Linked DNA regions of Homo sapiens: region 2 is linked to region 1. Evidence: promoter capture Hi-C in 16 types of primary human blood cells and fetal thymus (Javierre and others, 2016). All regions are on one chromosome and are shown on one strand. Each heading gives the region's core, a stretch centred on a gene start or on the middle of the fragment in contact. The rest is flanking DNA. Distances are from core to core; before and after follow the strand shown.

Evidence for each region. Contacts are between HindIII fragments. The CHiCAGO score rates a contact against its expected background, and 5 or more counts as called.
Region 2: a contact is called between the fragment with the promoter of ADAM15 here and the fragment with the promoter of HCN3 in region 1, in 3 of 17 cell types (neutrophils, activated CD4 T cells and non-activated CD4 T cells). The highest score is 5.6, in neutrophils.

What each region holds. Positions count from the first base shown.
Region 1 is chr1:155,274,760-155,279,375 of GRCh38, reverse strand. It overlaps HCN3 (hyperpolarization activated cyclic nucleotide gated potassium channel 3), which reads right to left and starts at 1,913. Exons shown (of 8, transcript NM_020897.3): 1 at 1,508-1,913. The coding sequence starts at 1,785. The HindIII fragment of the contact is 9,883 bases long and covers 1-2,795 here.
Region 2 is chr1:155,049,292-155,053,907 of GRCh38, reverse strand. ADAM15 (ADAM metallopeptidase domain 15) reads right to left here and starts at 2,592. Exons shown (of 23, transcript NM_207197.3): 1 at 2,443-2,592; 2 at 1,131-1,237; 3 at 415-491. The coding sequence starts at 2,521. It overlaps DCST1 (DC-STAMP domain containing 1), which reads right to left. Exons shown (of 17, transcript NM_152494.4): 17 at 2,978-3,291. The coding sequence ends at 3,040. It overlaps DCST1-AS1 (DCST1 antisense RNA 1), which reads left to right. Exons shown (of 4, transcript NR_040773.1): 2 at 4,547-4,616. It overlaps ADAM15-EFNA4 (ADAM15-EFNA4 readthrough), which reads right to left and starts at 2,592. Exons shown (of 26, transcript NR_176418.1): 1 at 2,443-2,592; 2 at 1,131-1,237; 3 at 415-491. RefSeq lists a silencer at 2,428-2,887 and an enhancer at 3,358-3,417. The HindIII fragment of the contact is 11,546 bases long and covers 1,057-4,616 here.

The sequences.
Region 1 (4,616 bases), core at 664-3,163:
CTGAGCACAGGCAGAGGCATGGGCAGGGGTGAGTGACATTGCTGTGGCAGACACCGTGGAAAGAAGAGGTCAAGAGGGAACTGTGTGAAGCCCTCATTCAGAGAATGGCACAGGAAAATCTCAGGGACTCAGTTACCTATGGTGGTTTTAATTCTAGGACACACCTAATCCCAGTGTCAACTCAGGAGCTAGCCCCTTCTGACTCGGACTGCAAAATCAATTTTCAGCCCTGAAAGAAACTTCCTCAAGTCCGGGCCTCTGGGAAGCCCCTTAGACTGTATGTTTTCAATAAACAAAAACCCTCGGCCATTCTTCTTTTCTCTCCTCGGCTGCTGAGGAGGAATCCTGTATTGTGAGACACTAAGAGAGGGGAGGGAAAGAGGGTTCGCCTAGCCATGAAAGCATCTTCACAGCCTGACTCACAGGTGGGTCACAAGCCTGGCGGGTGATGTAGTATAGAGAATGGAGAAGCACAATCAGAGGGATACCAGGCTTCTGGGGATCCGTCTGCGAGTGAACTGAGGGAAGAGAGTGAGATCCACAGGAGACTAGAAAAGGCGCACTGGCTGGGTGGGAACGAGGCAGCAAAGACAGGAGTGAAAGGAACAATGGGAGGAAGAGAGACATAGAGGGAGTGTGTATATATGTGGATTCAAGATAATGTCTGGGTCTACAACTGTATTTCGAGGCTCCAGATTCACACCTCTTCCTCTCTGCTTCTTTAGTTCCCCAGGTTAGGTGCTTTGCACACATCCCTGCCTCATCCAAGAGCTGTCCTTCATTTCCCCCAAGGACAGGGCTGCTGTCTTCCCCTAGCGACCTTGATGTAGAGGTACACCCTGACGGAGACTGTGAAATGGCCCCACCCCCACCCTCTGTTCCTTCTCTGGGAGTCACCTGGGTGGTGGTCCTGCCCCTGCTTTGCCGCCTCAGTCACTCTGAGTCTCGGCCCCGCCCCGCCGCCCCCGCCTTCAGCACTAGGGACAGCGACCAGAGCTGAGGTCTGGACCCCCCGCCCCCTTCAGCGTCCCTATTTTTCCTGGTAGTCTGTCATGCTGAACTAGGCAGGTGCTAAGGAGCGGGTGTGGGGATGGGAGATGGCGGAGCTCGGCTTCTCCCTCAGACTGGCCCCGATACTTAGAATATAATTTCCTAGATCTCCAGCAAGCAGGACTGGAGGAGGCAGGGGTCCCAAACTCTGGTAGTTCCTTTGGTCCGGATGGGGTCCCGGGTTCCTGAAAGAGGAAATCCAGGTCTCTGGAGATCCCCTGATGTCTGCTTGCCCCTTCTGGTGCCCCCAGCCTGTCCAGGCACGGAGGACCTCCGGCAGGGGATACCCGCCCAGGAATTCCCAGGCTAGACTGGTGCAAGTGACTCTCCCGCCCCACCAAGGGACCCCGGGCTGGAAATGAAGTGACCGTGGAGGGTGGGGCGGGCCGGGTCCCGGTGTCGCTGCCCGCGAGGGTGGGATTGATGTACCCTGCCCTCCCCGCCAAGCCCCCAATACCGGAAGTCGCTGTAGGGGTGGATGATCCAGGCCCCCGCTGACTTCACCCGCTCCTGCTCGATTTCCACTGCTTTGTGGCTGCCGAACACCCGAAGGGAGAACTTGTTGACCGTAGGCTGGAGCAGCGTCCCAAGGTGCCTCCTCTTAGGCTCAGGCCCAGATTTGGGGATCGGACCTGAGGCCGCGGTCGCAGGCGGGGGAGCAACGGGAGGCACCGCCTCCAGTCCAGGGGTCGCCCCTTCGCTGGCCCCCGCCGCCGGCCGCTGCTCTGCCTCCATGGCGCCCACCCCGCTTACACGCTCGGCCTCCTAGAGCCCTCTGTGGCCATCAGGTACCCGCAACCCCTCCAGAGCAGGAGTCGGCGCAGCCCCGCGGGCTCTAGCGGAGGCGTCGTAGGCTCGGAATCGCCGGCGCGCGGGGCGGAGGGGGTGTGTGCTAGACTGGCGGGCGGCGGGCGGGCTGCGCGGCGCCCCCTGGCGAGGGCCGCGCCAAGACCGGGCGGGGCTGGGACGCCGGGATCCTGGAGGAACTCCGAGAGGGGCGTGGCTTAGCAAAGAAGGCGGGGAGCGCAGCCTGAGCCAGGGAGAGGGCGTGGCCTAGCGTTGGCCTTTCATCCACTGAGAACCAGGGAGGAGGAGCCCCCTGCAGTGGCGGGAAAATCGGACGCGGGTTTGTAGCTTGAAGGACTTGGGAGGGAGAGGGATTGGGGACCAATGGAAGAAGTGGAAATGGCTTTTGGGATTCTTCTCCACTCTCGCCCAGGGACTTCTGTCCTGCTCCCGTCTTCTCTCAACACTGTCCTAGGCATATTCTTGTCTTTTGGTCTCCTCCGAACTGCTTCCCCTAGTATTTAATTTCCTAATTCATTCTGTCAGCCTTCACCAAGTGCAACTCTGCCTGTCATTGAGTGGATGCTGAGGAAACAAAAATGAATACAAAAGTCCTAGTCTTAGCATCTCCATGTAGTAATGGAAAACAACACAAAACAAAACAAAAACAAAGGCCTAGCCATAAAGCCACTGCTCATCTGTGCCCAACGACAGACAGGTAAATTGCAGTGCTATGCGAAGTGCTACAAATTCCTAAATATCTCAAATTCTCCCCTTCATCTCCAATTCTTATTACCACTGCCTCATTTCAAGCCCTCAGCATTTTTTCACTTAAATTACTTCGGAAACCTCTAAAAGAGTCTTCAACCTCTTCCAGGCCAATTCTTCTTCCATTCCCTGCCAGTTACCTTCCTAAAATCCAACTATGGCTGTGTCACTTGCTTGAAGCCCATCAAGCTTTCCCATCTTCTACAGGGGTACATTTAAGCTGCTTAGCATGGTGTACCAGGCCCAAAAAATTTGGACCTAGTTTCAACAGTCTCTCTTCTGACAGTCCCTCTCTTGAAAGCCACAGCCCCAATCATGCTGAAAGACTTTGTGCTGCCTTGTCTCTATGCTTTTGCAAATATTTTCTCTGCCTGGTATTCTCCTCCAATTCACTTTCGAACAGTTGGTTCAGATCTTGCTTTCTCTAGGAAACCTAGGAACACATTTCCAACTCTCCTTTCCTCAGGTAGGGTCTATTCTAGAGCTTTTTTACAGCAGCCAGGGCACCACTGTTTTGAGCAACTCATGTCACAGGGCTACCATTATTATTATTATTTTAGAGATGAGGTCACACTATGTTGCCCAGGCTGGTTTTGAACTCAGAGCTCAAGTGATCTTCCTGCCTTGGCTTCCCAAAGTGCTAGGATTACAGGCATGAGCATGGTCTCATTATTTATTTACAGATTTTCTCTCCTGTTAGATTGTGAAACTCTGAGAAACAGGAACCTTGCACCTGGCATAATTCTGGACACATAGTGGACATTCAGTAAATGCTTGTTGAATGAATTAATAATCTAGGAAAATGTTCCAGGAGGTGGAAGTGAAATCTTTACTTCTCTCTCCCCGACTCCTTCATTGATTGCTCTCCATGTTCTATTCCAGGGAACTTCTCTAAACTATGTCTGGTTATCTGATCTAACCTCCATCTGACCATCCTTCATCCAGCTCCTCTCTAATATTTCCTGACTTTATTTATTTACTCATTCTAGAGTCAGGGTCTTGCTCTGTTGCTCAAGCTGGAGTGCAGTGGTGTGATCATGACCCACTGCAGCCTCAAAGCAATCTTCCCACCTCAGTTTCCTGAGTAGCTGGGACTACAGGTGTGAGCCACCTTGCTCAGCTCCCTGACTTTAATATCGTTATTCTCAGATTATATTATTTCTCTTTCAATTGACCTTTCTGACCACTTCTCAATTCCTTCTGTAAAGTCTCTAACTCTTTCTCTTTCTCATTTTCTTTTTTTCTTTTCTTTTCTTTTTTTTTTTTTTTTTTTTTTGAGATAGAGTCTCACTCTGTCGCCCAAGCTGGAGTGCAGTGGCACGATCACGGGTCACTACAGCCTCAACCTCCCCAGGCTCAGGTGATCCTCCCACCTCAGCCTCCCGAGTAGCTGGGACTACAGGTGGGAGACACCATGAATGGCTAATTTTTATTTTTTATTTTATTTTATTTTAGACACAGTCTCACTCTGTCGCCCAGGCTGGAGTGCAATGGCACCATCTCGGCTCACTGCAACCTCCACCTTCTGGATTCAAGCGATTCTCGTGCCTCAGCCTTCCAAATAGCTGGGATTACAGGCACCTGCCATCACACCCGGCTAATTTTTGTATTTTTAGTAGAGACAGGGTTTCACCAGGTTGGCCAGGCTGGTCTCGAACTCCTGTGCTCAAGTGATCCACCTTCCTGGGCCTCCAAAACTGTTGGGATTACAGGCATGAGCCACCGCGCTTGGCCTAATTTTTGTATTTTTTTTTTTTTTTTTTTTTTTTTTTTTGAGACGGAGTCTCGCTGTCGCCCAGGCTGGAGTGCAGTGGCGCAATCTCGGCTCACTGCAGGCTCCGCCCCCTGGGGTTCACGCCATTCTCCTGCCTCAGCCTCCCGAGTAGCTGGGACTACAGGCGCCCGCCACCTCGCCCGGCTAATTTTTTGTATTTTTAGTAGAGACGGGGTTTCACCGTGTTAGCCAGGATGGTCTCGATCTCCTGACCTCGTGATCCGCCCGCCTTGGCCTC
Region 2 (4,616 bases), core at 1,343-3,842, 230 kb after region 1:
GTGGAGTGAAGAAAAAGAAGGCAGTGCTAAAGCCACTTCCCAGGTCGTGCATTGACAAGCAGAGGCTTGAAGGTGGTTGTGGGGCTGGGGACCAGGCAACCCCCGCAGCCAACTTTTCCACTCCTGACCCCGGGGCAGCAAAGTATACTGGTTGGGCCACTGACTCTGTTAGTTTATTTGAATTCCAATCTGGTTTTCACCACATACTAGCTGTGTGACCTGGGGCAAGTTATTTAATCTCTCTGTGCCTTGACTTCCTCATGTATAAAGTGAGGACAATAATACATGATAGTATATCCCTTATAGGGCTGTTATGAGGATTAAATGAGCACAAGCACTTAGTACCTGGCACATAATAAATGCTATACAAGTTGTTGGCCATGTGGTCACTGTTATTGCCACCATCACTATTACCTATTCTGTAGCAGCTCCAGGATATGACTGTCACCGTCCAGCTCCAACTTGATCCTCAGGGGCTCAGGCAGACTGGTCTGTGGGCACCAGAGGGCAGGTCACCTCCCTAGACCTGTCCACAACTCCCAGCCTCTCTAACCAGAAAACCTCAGGCCCACAGAAGAGCACCAGCAATTAGATCACTGGTGGGGGGATCCCAGGGGAGGGGCCAGGAAACCCTGCCTGGCCTGGAGCATTGTTCTGGGGGGTTGTGTGCGGAGGTCAAGGAAGGTATCTGAGCCACCCCTTCTCGGCTTCCTGCCCAGAGAGGAAGCACCGTGTAGGACCCAGCACAAGCCCCAGCCCTTCCTCTGACTCAGCTTTAGAATGGGGTGGGGGGGGGGGGGTTTGGTAAGGTCCTGACTCTTTCCAAATCCCCCCACTGAGAAAACCGACAACATGAGATGAAGAAAGCAAGTTTGGCTTCACAATTTCCCCAGTGGAGATGGATGGGTTGGGTGGGGCTGAGGCAGACAGATACACGTGTGTGCAGAGGGAGAGGGAGATAAGTGAAGCCAGGTGCTGGGGTGTGGTGGGAGAGGCAGCTGGGCCTGGGATAGACCCACTACAGTGAGCTCTACCCACCAGCTCCTCAGCCAAGCTTTGGCTTTGAGACACCTGGCTATACCGGGGCGTGTGTGGATTCGTTTATTTATTAGAGGGGAGTGAGAGCTCACCTGAAGCACCTTTTTGAGGCTAATTGGGAGATCGTCCTGAAGGACCTGGGGCTCCAAGGGCTCCCTCGGGGCCTTCTCTGACTCTGCCTGCTGCTCCTCAGTGCCACCTGCAGGTCCCAGGACACCCCAAGACAGTACTGAGGGAATCGACAGCAGGGCTGGGGGTGACAGGTGCCCTCAGATCCACCAGCTCCCAGCCCATCAAGACCCTTAGGTACCTGAGGGGCTTCCACATTGCATGCTGAGACTTAAAGAAGAATACTGGAAGGAGAGGGTGTCTCTCTAATTTATGGCTTTCCACCCACCAACCCATTCACAAGTCCCCAAGAAAGACTTTCGGCTTGCGCAGCCTGTGGCCCTCCTTGTCCCCTTCCGGCCAATCCCAGGTTCTCACAGGACCCTCCCCGGTTCCCACTCCCTCCCAATCACTCTCCCCCCACTTCAGGAACGCCCCCTCTCGAGACTGAGCTAAGCCTTGTGGCCGGGTGCCCGCTCACCCTCCCCTTCGCTCACATCGGAGATGCCAGGAACGCCCATTTCTGGGTGAGCAGTGCAAACACCCCCACCTCCCTAAACACCCTCATGCCCAGTCAGGCACACCCGCTGCCTACAGCCTCTGCTTCCTCCTCGAGCACCCCCCACCCCCCCAACACACAATGGCCCTCTCTCCTCCGGACACTCCACCCGCGCCTGCCCTCTCGGTCCCGGCCCAAGACAGCAGCGGGAAGTGAAAGTTCCAAGGAGGAGTTGGTGTCCCAGCCTCTTTCCTGGCCAATTCTCCCTTCTCCTGGCTCATCTCGGGCCCCTCCCGCTCGGCCAGGCACTGGTGGCAACAGCACCAGGGTGAGGAGTGCCTGGCGGCCCCAGGCCTGGAATAGAGGCTAGAGAGAATCCTCTTCACTAAACCCTACAAGCCATGCCCGCTCAGCGCCCTGGCACCGGGTCGAACGGTTAGCTAGGCCCCAGAGCAGCGAAGATGCCAGTCCTGGGGAGCAGCGACCCTCTCATCACGATCTTGAAGTGGCGCTGGACAGGCCCCTCGGTACCTGGTACCTGAGCCTGAAAGTGTCCGCAGGGACCGCGCAGAGGATGACCAGGCAGGAGGCAGGGGGCGCCGGCATCCCCCCTCCTTCTCTTTTCACCCCATCGCCAAGTCACCGGGCCCTAGGCCCAGGACAGCGGACCAGGGCGGGCCGCGCTCTGGCTGGGCTCTCCCAGGGTCTCCGTCCGGCCCCATTACCCTAATGCCTTCCGACTTTCCTGCACCTCCCTCCCAGTCCGCCCCCCGACCCACTCCAGGCGGAGGACTCACCTATATTTGGGAGCGGCCAGGAAGGCAGAGGGCTGCCCGCGCCCAGGAGCCCCAGGGCCCAGAGCAGCGCCAGCCGCATGGCAGCGGCGCTCCGGGCCGGGCGAGGGCAGCAAGTGCGGAACAGCGCGCGGAGGAGCGGCCGGCGGCCAGGTCGCCTCGGAGAACCCAGCAGCGCCGCGCGGCCACCAGGCCCCGCCCCGGCCCGCCCCCTCCCACCCGGCCCCAAGCCAAGCTCCGCCCCCGGCAAAGCCCGCCCCGCTGCGCGCCGGGTGCCTCGGGAGCGGGGACACCGCCCACTACGCCCGCGCTGCTCAGCGCTACCGCTTCCCCGCAACTGTGCGGAGTGGGAGCCGGTGCCCGGTCCGACCGGCTTGGGCGGCGCGCCTTCACCCGGCGCCAGGTCCGGACCCCTCCCTAGTAGCTTCGCGGCCTCCCTGCCTCCTGTGCGCGGCCTGGCTCGGAGAGGTCGGGCGGGCAGGCTTTCCCGACTGCAGGCGAGGCAGTGCGCGGCTCACCCCAGTCCCCGACCCACGTGAAGCGTACAGGGCATTTTATTAACCGGGAAGGACGGTGCGGAAGAGCGAGCAGGACGCCTCTTCACCCCGCGTAGGCAGTGTCGTCGTTGCTGTCACTAAAGGCGGAGGAAGAGAGCTCTTCGCGGGGCGTGCAGACCGGGCACCGCTGCCGCATGTCGTCCCAGCACGACCAGCAGTACACGGCCTCGCAGTCCAGCGTCCGGCACACGTAGGACTCGGGCGTCTCGGGTGCCTGGCACACCACGCAGCGCCGGCACAGCCAGCGGCGCAGGAGCGGGCAGCCGCGGTGCAGGATATCCGCCAGCGGGTGGCGCTGTTGGGAGGTGGGCGTTAGCGCCAGCCCGGGAGCGAGGCGGGAAAGAAGGGGAACTGGACAGCGTTTCCTGTCTGAAGTCGCCAGGCCTGACAATTCCCGCGTGTTGGAGGAGGCTGGGTTGGACAAAGGAAACCCCTGGAGGGCGAGGGTGCCTCCCTCCCCAACTCTGTGATGGAGAATGGGAGGATGCACCCTCCAGGCTCTCTCCAAGCGGATATCAGCCACAACTCTCATTTGCACTTTCCTGTAAATCATCTTATTTGGTTCTCACAGTGAGGCTGAGAAGTGAGCAGGCCAGATCGACTATCACTGTTGCTATCCCCACTTTACAGTTGAGAAAGGTGAAGTGACTCTCAAAGTCACACAGATAGTAAACAATCCAACTTGGCTGGACCCCAGGGGCCCTGATTCCAAACCACAAACCTAGTTCACTATGCTCCCTGCCATCCCTCACGACATGTCTCTACACAGTTGTCAGGGATTTTCCACAGGCCACCTTACCCAGGAAGCAGCCACTCTTTGCCCAAGAAACTCCAGAGGCCCTGCTGCCTGCCAGACAGGCAGAACTCTTGGGCTTGGCCTTCAGAGCCTTCCCTCACCTGGTCCCTTTCTAGCCTCTTTCCTACTTTAGCCCTCCCTGAGAGCTGTCTCTTCTGAGCCAGTTTCTCCTGAGACTAGCCCTGGCACTTCGCATTCCCTGTGGACTGAGTCTTTGCACATTCTGCTTGGAATGACTGTCTGGCACATTTCCATCTGTGCATTCACATTCAGTTTGCTTCACGACCCTGTCAAGGAATCCCAGCATGTTCTTTTTTGTTTTTTGTTTTTCATTTTTTCACAACACATTCATTTGGCCCCTATTGTGTGTCATGGGGGCTGGGGGTATCCAGGCCCTAGGGAAAAAGCTAAGCAAACACAGTCTCACTTTTATGAACTTTGTTAGGACTGATTAAATAAGAATGGCTGCCACTCATTGTTTATAATGTCAGGTCCTGTACTAAGATACTGTACATAAATTATTTCAATTCTAAATTAGCCGGGCGTGGTAGTGTGTGCCTGTAATCCCAGCTACTCGGGAAGCTGAGGCACGAGAATCGCTTGAACTGGGGAGGTGGAGGTTGCAGTGAGCCAAGATCACGCCACTGCACTCCAGCCTGGGCGACAGAGTGAGACTTAGTCTCAAAAAAAAAAAAAAATTCAATTCAATTGTCATGTAAGGCAGATAGTGTTATTATCATCTCCTTTTTTTCAGGTGAGAAAACTGATGCTTGGAGATGTGATCACTGCCCAGGGTCACCCAATGATAACATGCATGCATATGG